2 separate regions of the Homo sapiens genome follow, and region 2 is linked to region 1. The links are contacts of gene promoters, found by promoter capture Hi-C in blood cells and fetal thymus (Javierre and others, 2016). All regions are on one chromosome and are shown on one strand. The core of a region is centred on a gene start or on the middle of the fragment in contact, and the rest is flanking DNA. Distances in the headings are between cores, read along the strand shown.

Evidence for each region. The method cuts DNA at HindIII sites, captures the fragments that hold promoters and counts their contacts. A CHiCAGO score of 5 or more calls a contact.
Region 2: a contact is called between the fragment with the promoter of MPHOSPH9 here and the fragment with the promoter of MLXIP in region 1, in 1 of 17 cell types (erythroblasts). The highest score is 5.2, in erythroblasts.

What each region holds. Positions count from the first base shown.
Region 1 is chr12:122,076,751-122,080,242 of GRCh38, forward strand. MLXIP (MLX interacting protein) reads left to right here and starts at 2,006. Exons shown (of 17, transcript NM_014938.6): 1 at 2,006-2,516. The coding sequence starts at 2,104. RefSeq lists enhancers at 232-281, 2,349-2,588 and silencers at 1,549-1,828, 1,839-2,288. The HindIII fragment of the contact is 7,442 bases long and covers 1-3,492 here.
Region 2 is chr12:123,231,002-123,234,539 of GRCh38, forward strand. MPHOSPH9 (M-phase phosphoprotein 9) reads right to left here and starts at 2,140. Exons shown (of 24, transcript NM_022782.4): 1 at 2,074-2,140. MTRFR (mitochondrial translation release factor in rescue) reads left to right here and starts at 2,435. Exons shown (of 3, transcript NM_152269.5): 1 at 2,435-2,530. RefSeq lists an enhancer at 1,913-2,152. The HindIII fragment of the contact is 1,460 bases long and covers 899-2,358 here.

The DNA of each region.
Region 1 (3,492 bases), core at 756-3,255:
AGTCCAGGTGAAAGAGCCAGATCCTGTCTCAAAAAAAAAAAAAAAAAAAAGTGGCTGGGCATGTAAACTTACCAAGGACCAAGGAGACAAGTCTTGAGAGAAAGGAAGGCAACTCAAAGGATGGACTTTTAAACACTTGTAACCAGCATTGGGAACAGTAGTAGGTTGAAGAGGGAAATCTAGAACTCATGCCTGAAAACTGCCAGTCATCCAGCCCATTTTTCCATACAGACATTTGGAAATAAGTTAATGGAGCCATTTTGGTGAGAGCCCTCTGTTCCCTTCAGGAGGCCTTTGTCAGGAAGAGGGTGGGGCAGGGGACTCACCCCCCACTCAAATCTGGAACTGAAACCAGCTTCAAAGCCGAGTGCAGAGCCAGCGCGGTGGCTCATGCCTGTCATCCCAGCACTTTGGGAGTCCAAGGCAGGCCTCACTTGAGGTCAGGAGTTCCAGACCGGCCTGGCCAACATGGTGATTGCACCACTGCGCTACAGCCTTGGGTGACAGAGCAAGACTCTGTCTCAAAAAACAAAACAACAATAAAACAAAGCAGAGTGCAGGAGTGGCTGTGGACTCTGGACGCCCTGCTAGGATTAGGATGGGTGTTCCTGGCTCATGGGCCTCACTGGCTCTTCTGATGCCCTGCCACCCCCACCCCAGACTGGCTTTGAGCCCCGGAAACCTTGACAGCTTTCTAGAGGTGTCTGTCAGTTAGGTTGTGCCACGCGAAGTTGCCGTTTCTGCAGGTCAAATAGTGGTGGACTATTGGCAATTTCTAGGCACCTCTGGTCTGGTTGATCCAAATCCTCCAACCTGTGGCACATTTATTTAGCGCTCATTTTGTGCCAGCCTGCCTGCTAAGCAACTTATAGCCATTTTTATTTGTATTTATTTTTCTTTTTGAGACAGGGCCTCGCTCTGTCGCCCAGGCTAGAGTGCAATGGCGCAATCTCGGCTCACTGCAACCTCCACCTCCCGGATTCAAGCGATTCTCCTGCCTCAGCCTCCCGAGTAGCTGGGATTACAGGGGTGCACCACTACGACCGGCTAATTTTTGTTATTTTTAGTAGAGACAGGGTTTCACCGTGTTGGCCTGGCTGGTCTTGAACTTCTGGCCTCAAGTGATCCACCCGCCTCGGCCTCCAAAAGTGCTAGGATTACAGGCATGAGCCACCGCGCCCCACTATAGCCATTTTTAAACTGTCCCAAGTTTCTGAGGAAACGGAATTGTTCACCATTTGACAGAGAAGAAAACTCTGGCTCAGATACTCCCCTTTTAGAATTGTTTCGGGGGCTGGCTCGTCCGTCAAACTTTAAAAAAATAACAACAGCATGCTGAGTTGAAGTTAAAAGAGCTGGGGTCTGGAGGTCGCTGGGCTCAGGGGCGCTGCCACTCAACAGCTGCGCCGAGCTGGGGACGCGCAGGGGAAGCAAGTTCCCAGCTCTGTGGACTCCAGGTCTGAGAAAAATCCTGTCGGTATTCAGCCACCCAGTGTTCCCATCAATACGATGAGAATAATGAGGACAATAGCCACCACGTCCGGCAAACTCAGGCGTGAGCTGCGAGGACTCGGTACCGCCCGGCAGGGAAAAAGCAGGGCCTGGAGGCCGAGGAGCCCCACCCGCACCCACCACGTGGAGCCGGCCGGGCCTGCGGCGAAGCCACAGGGCGACTCCCGGGGCGCGGAGCGGGGCGGGGGCGGGACTAGCACGGCCCCACTCTGCCGACGCCTCTCCCAGGTCGCGACACCGGCGAGCCGCTCCGCCCGGCCACCGTGTCCCTCAGCACCCACGGACGCCGGGAGAGGAGGAGGTGGCGAGGGGCACGGCCGGGAGGCGTGGCCTCCGCTTCCCCTTTTTTTTTTTTTTTGGTCCGCCTAGCTAAGGAAAGGTTCCCCTGCGCCTTTAAGAGGCCGACGCGGGCAGCCGATTGGCCCAGACGCCTCGGTGACGTCACGCCGGGGCCGGAGCCCTCCCCCTCCCGCCGCGCCGCGCGCTCGCGGACAGTCGGCGCGCGGGCCGGGCCGGGCCGGCGCCCCTCTGCCTCGCGCGCTTGTCGCGTTGCCCCGGGCTCCGGGGGATGCCCCCGGCCGAGCCCTTCTCATGGCCGCCGACGTCTTCATGTGCTCCCCGCGCCGGCCTCGCAGCCGGGGCCGCCAGGTGCTGCTCAAGCCCCAGGTGTCCGAGGACGACGACGACTCGGACACGGATGAGCCGTCCCCGCCGCCCGCCTCCGGCGCGGCCACCCCGGCCCGGGCCCACGCGAGCGCCGCGCCACCGCCGCCTCGGGCCGGGCCGGGCCGCGAGGAACCTCCGCGCCGCCAGCAGATCATCCACAGCGGCCACTTCATGGTGTCGTCGCCGCACCGAGAGCACCCGCCCAAGAAGGGCTACGATTTCGACACGGTCAACAAACAGACGTGCCAGACCTACAGCTTCGGCAAGACTAGCTCCTGCCACCTGTCCATCGACGCCTCGCTCACCAAGCTCTTCGAGTGCATGACTTTGGCCTACAGGTAGGGACCCCCGCGACCCCCTGAGGCCCCGGCCGGAGGCCCTTGTTTGACAAAACAAGCGTGGAGGGAAGGGCCGCCTGGCAACCCCGTGGCTTCATGCATTCCCTTTGGGTCTTCCTCCTTCGGGAGGGTTTATGGATCTGGGGTTCCCCGCGTTGCCAGAGGAGCCGGGGTCCTGGCCTCTTCCCCTGCCAGCAGTGCCGGGGTCCTTTCGGGTTCACGTTCCCCATCCAGGCCCTCCCCTCCAGTGTCCTGGGACCACCGATGTTGGACGAGGAAGAGGTATAAACACTGGCTGCATCTTGTGTTACCCGACTCTATCGACTCCTTCCTCCAAACGCTTTGTGTGTTTCCCCCATATCCAGCAGCGGTCAGGACCACCTGTTCGGGGTGACTGGAGGCTGGCTCTGCTGTTTAATGGTTGTGTAACACCTCGGAGCCTGTTTCCTCCTTTATAAAAGGGGAATGACTGTAGTGTCTGCCTCCAAGGGGCTGTTGTGGGGATGGAGTGAGATAGGTAAATTGCTTATTCCAGTGCTTGGCCAGAGTTAGGTGTCCCTGCACCTGGAGGCTGGCCCCCTTACAACCTCATCGGGAGGCCCGCCCCCATCTCGGGAGGGCTTTGGGTGCCTCCTAAGAAGACTTTTGGTGCCACAGCTGTTGGAGGTGCAGTCTGTCCTTCTGGCAAGTTGGAGGGTTTTCTGGCCGGTCCTGAAACATTATATGAGGGAGATGTCATTGTTGAGGGCAGACATCCCAGACACCGTTCTGACATGTGGATTCGGCTCTGGGCAGAGATTCCTCTTTTCCAAGTCACAGAAAATGCCTGGCCCTCAAAGATTAAAGCGCTTTTTCACTCTCTCTCCCTTTCCCACTATGAATATTAGGTATTTGCTGCAGGTAACTTTTTTGTCTGCGCAACAGAACTTCTTTGGACTGGCAGCAGCGGCCTTGAGCAGCTTGGCCCTGCAGAAAG
Region 2 (3,538 bases), core at 890-3,389, 1.2 Mb after region 1:
AAAACCACTGAATTGTACACTTGTAAAAGACTGAATTTTATGGTATGTGAATTATGTATCTCAATTAAAAATCTACATTAAGGATTATTTGCAAAAGTAGCATCACCTTTTTCAGGTAATATTTCAGATTTTTATATGTTTAATAATCAAGGTTCTTTTTTTTAGAGACAGCATCTTGCTATGTTGCCCAGGCTGGTCTACAACTCCTGGCCTCAAGTGCTCAGCCTCCCGAGCAGCTGGGATTATAGCGCAAACCATTTTGCCAGGCTTTACAATGAAAGTTCTAGATATAATTCTATTATGTAACAATTGGAATACTTGCATGCCTTGTTCATTTGTTTAATAAATTCTACCAAGTATATATGTTTGTTGACTTATACAGAGACAAGAAGAACTGAACTACTTAATATTTAATTTGTATTAAAAAGAGCCAATTAAACTGTTAACAACCATAGCTTCCCCATTGTCTGGAAGTACATTTTGAACTATATATATGGTCTTTTGTCTCTGTGCAGCTATTCTTAGAAAATAAACCACTGGGCACACTGGAGCCTGCCTGCAGCTACTGGGAGCATGTCCCAGCTACTCTGGAGGCTGAGGTGGGAGGATCACTTCAGCCCAGGAGTTCAAGACTGCAGTGAGCTATGATCCTGCCACTGCACTCCAGCTTGGGCAACAGACCAAGACCCCATCTCTTAAAAAATAAAAATAAAAATAAAAAAATTATTTGCCAGGCCAACTAAAATTTCAGTGAAGCTGGATATATACCATGGCAAATTGGCTGTAACAGGTCAAACAAGATGCCTCCTTCCTGGGGAATTCATGCACTTATAAAAGAGCAAGGGAGCAAGAGGAAAAAGGAGAAAGAAAGAAAACTTCAGCTGCTTACAAACTGAAAAGCTTAGAGAGTGCAACAGGAATATTATCTAGTATTCCGCTTCTGCTAGATTCCCACTTTCTAGGGCCTGCTTTTATAAAGCATTACACAAAAACAGGGACCATTTCCTTCAGGGACAGGAGTGAATGCAAAGGGTAACCGGACCTAACTAAATGGACTTTTCCCCAGTGGCTCAGCCCATCACCCACGACAAATGGGGCATTGAAACAGTCAAGGACTGCCCCTTCCAACTGGCAACAGAAATACCTGGATTCCAATCACCATGCTATTACACCAGGAAAACACAAGCTCTCCAGGGAGATGAACCTGCAACCCCATCTATTATTTCCCCTGCTAAGGTAATCCGGATCCGGATGCAGATCCAGATGGAAAACCACTAGAAATTCAAAGATGCTTCTCCATTTGGGGTGGAGGTGCTGGGGGGAGGGCAGGGAAGTAAGAGGGAAAAATCCTTAAACACCCACAAATACAATGCAAAAAAAAATTTTTTTAACTTGATACAGAATGAATATAAGAGCAGAGCTTTTATATTTCCCAGCAACAAGATATGACGCTTTTGGTGTCCCTACCCCCTAGCAAAAAAAGGGAGCTGGGGAAAAGGAACGATTGATGGTTATGAAACATGAAAGTTAACTGGGCGCTCCGCCTTGACGGGAGGCTTGGGGGAGAGGAAGAGATTTCAGATGGGGATGAGGCCAGATCCCGACATTCTGAGCTCACAGTCAGCCCGCAATGGCTGGTGGCGGCTATCGGGTCAAAGTGGGAAGGAGAGGGAGAATCTATGCAGTCGCCTAAGCTACGGAAAGCAGGGAGGACGGAGAAAAGCCACCGCTCCTGCAACTACAACCGCGATTCCAAAAGGAAACCGGGGCACCTTGGCAAAAAATGGGGGGAAAAATTAAAAAAACCCCACAAACCCCCCGCCCCTCAGGAAGAGCGATCTGCGATTGGGCCGCGCGAGTGTCACTCAAGGGCGCCGAGTCTAGAAAAGGCGCACCGCGGCCGGGCAGAGCTCCCACACGCCGAAGGGCTCCGAGGGGGTCAGGCCAATCGGCAGCCGTCACCCCACACCCCAGCCCATCACCACACTCAAGGGGCCGCTAAGACAGTGTCTCCTAAGTCTCGTCTCCTGTCCCCAGCGGCCTACAGCTCCCTGCAGGCTGGTGGCCGCTTACCTGGCCGCCGCTCCCGCTGCCGATGTCAGGGTCATGCAAGCGGCCTCTCGCGACCGTTACCCGAGGGAGCGCGCGCGCGCCCGGCGTCTCTCCAGTGATTGGCTGCCCGGAAGGAGGCGGAGACAGCCTCGCATGGCGCGCGCGTCCACCTCGCCGTTCCCCCTCGCGCAGCTCCAACCAAAGAGAGACATCCAACCCCGGGGGAGTGACAAGGGGGCGGGATTGCTGTGAAACTCTCTTCTCTGATTGGCTCTCTGGGAGCCAGCCGCTGCCACGAGGGAAAGAAGCTTCAGTTTCTCGCATGCGCAGTGAGTAAACATGAGCCTCTGGTAGATAAGAGAAACCGCGATCGGAGTACGGCGCGTGCGCAGATCAGGGATCGCGATTGCGAATCCTCCGCTGAGGTGATTTGGATATCCCTAGAACGTTGAGGGCACGAGTCGGGTCCTGAGACCAGGTAAGCATCTGCGGAGAAGCCAGGTAACCCTACGGCTGCCGACGACTGTCAAAGGCTCCGGAGAGAGGACTGCGAGCCGGGACGCCTGGGTTTTTCCCGACTTGCGACCCCGAGTGGCGCAGCCAGTTTACCTGAGGCCGCGCTGGCGGTGGGGTGGGGCCGGCCGTGACACCCGAGCTCAGTTTTCTCGGGACCTGGTTTACGCTAGGTGCTGTGGGTCGGCCCTGGGGCTGTTCAGGCACTCAGGGCAGGGGAGAGGAGAGACTACCGTCCTGGAGATAACGGTTCCACGGAGGCCCAAGGCGAAACGGAAGGATCCTCATGTACAAAACTGAGCGGAATGGAGCTGTGAGCACGCATCAGGTGCTGTTTCAGGCCTGGCACGTAGTAGAGGTCAGCACTGCCCTTGCTAGGCTTTTGCGGAGATACTCGTTTTTTTTTTAATAGACGTGGGGTGGGGGGGTCTCACTGTGTTGCCCAAGCTGATCTCGAACTCCTGGCCTCAAGCGATCCTCCTTCCTCGGCCTCCCAAAGTGCTGGGATCACAGGCGCAAGCCACCCAGCCCTACTTTTGAAGGACCAAAGGGAACTCGCTCTCCTCCCCGTGGGACCCCAGCCCATTTCATGCGCACTGTGCAGGCCACATTCTTCAGCATAGTTAACCTTTAAGGTCTTTCCAGCTACTCGATTTACCTCCAGGAGTTCTGGCTCACAGTAAAGGGACTTCCCTGGCACTATCACTTAGGCCTCCACAACCCAGGAAATGGATCTGCCCTTGGAATAACAGATCTGCCAGGAGGCGTTACATCTCATTGGAGCTTCCTAAGTATACCTACCAATTTTTTTTTACTTTTTTTATTTTTGTGGGGGAGGGGGGTAGGGGGGACAAGGTCTCTCTCTGTCACCCAGGCTGGAGGGCAGTGGCGCGATCTCGGCTCACTTTAACCTCTGCCTCCCGGGTTCAAGTGATTCTTCTGCTTCAGCCTCCCGAGTAGCCGGGAATACCGG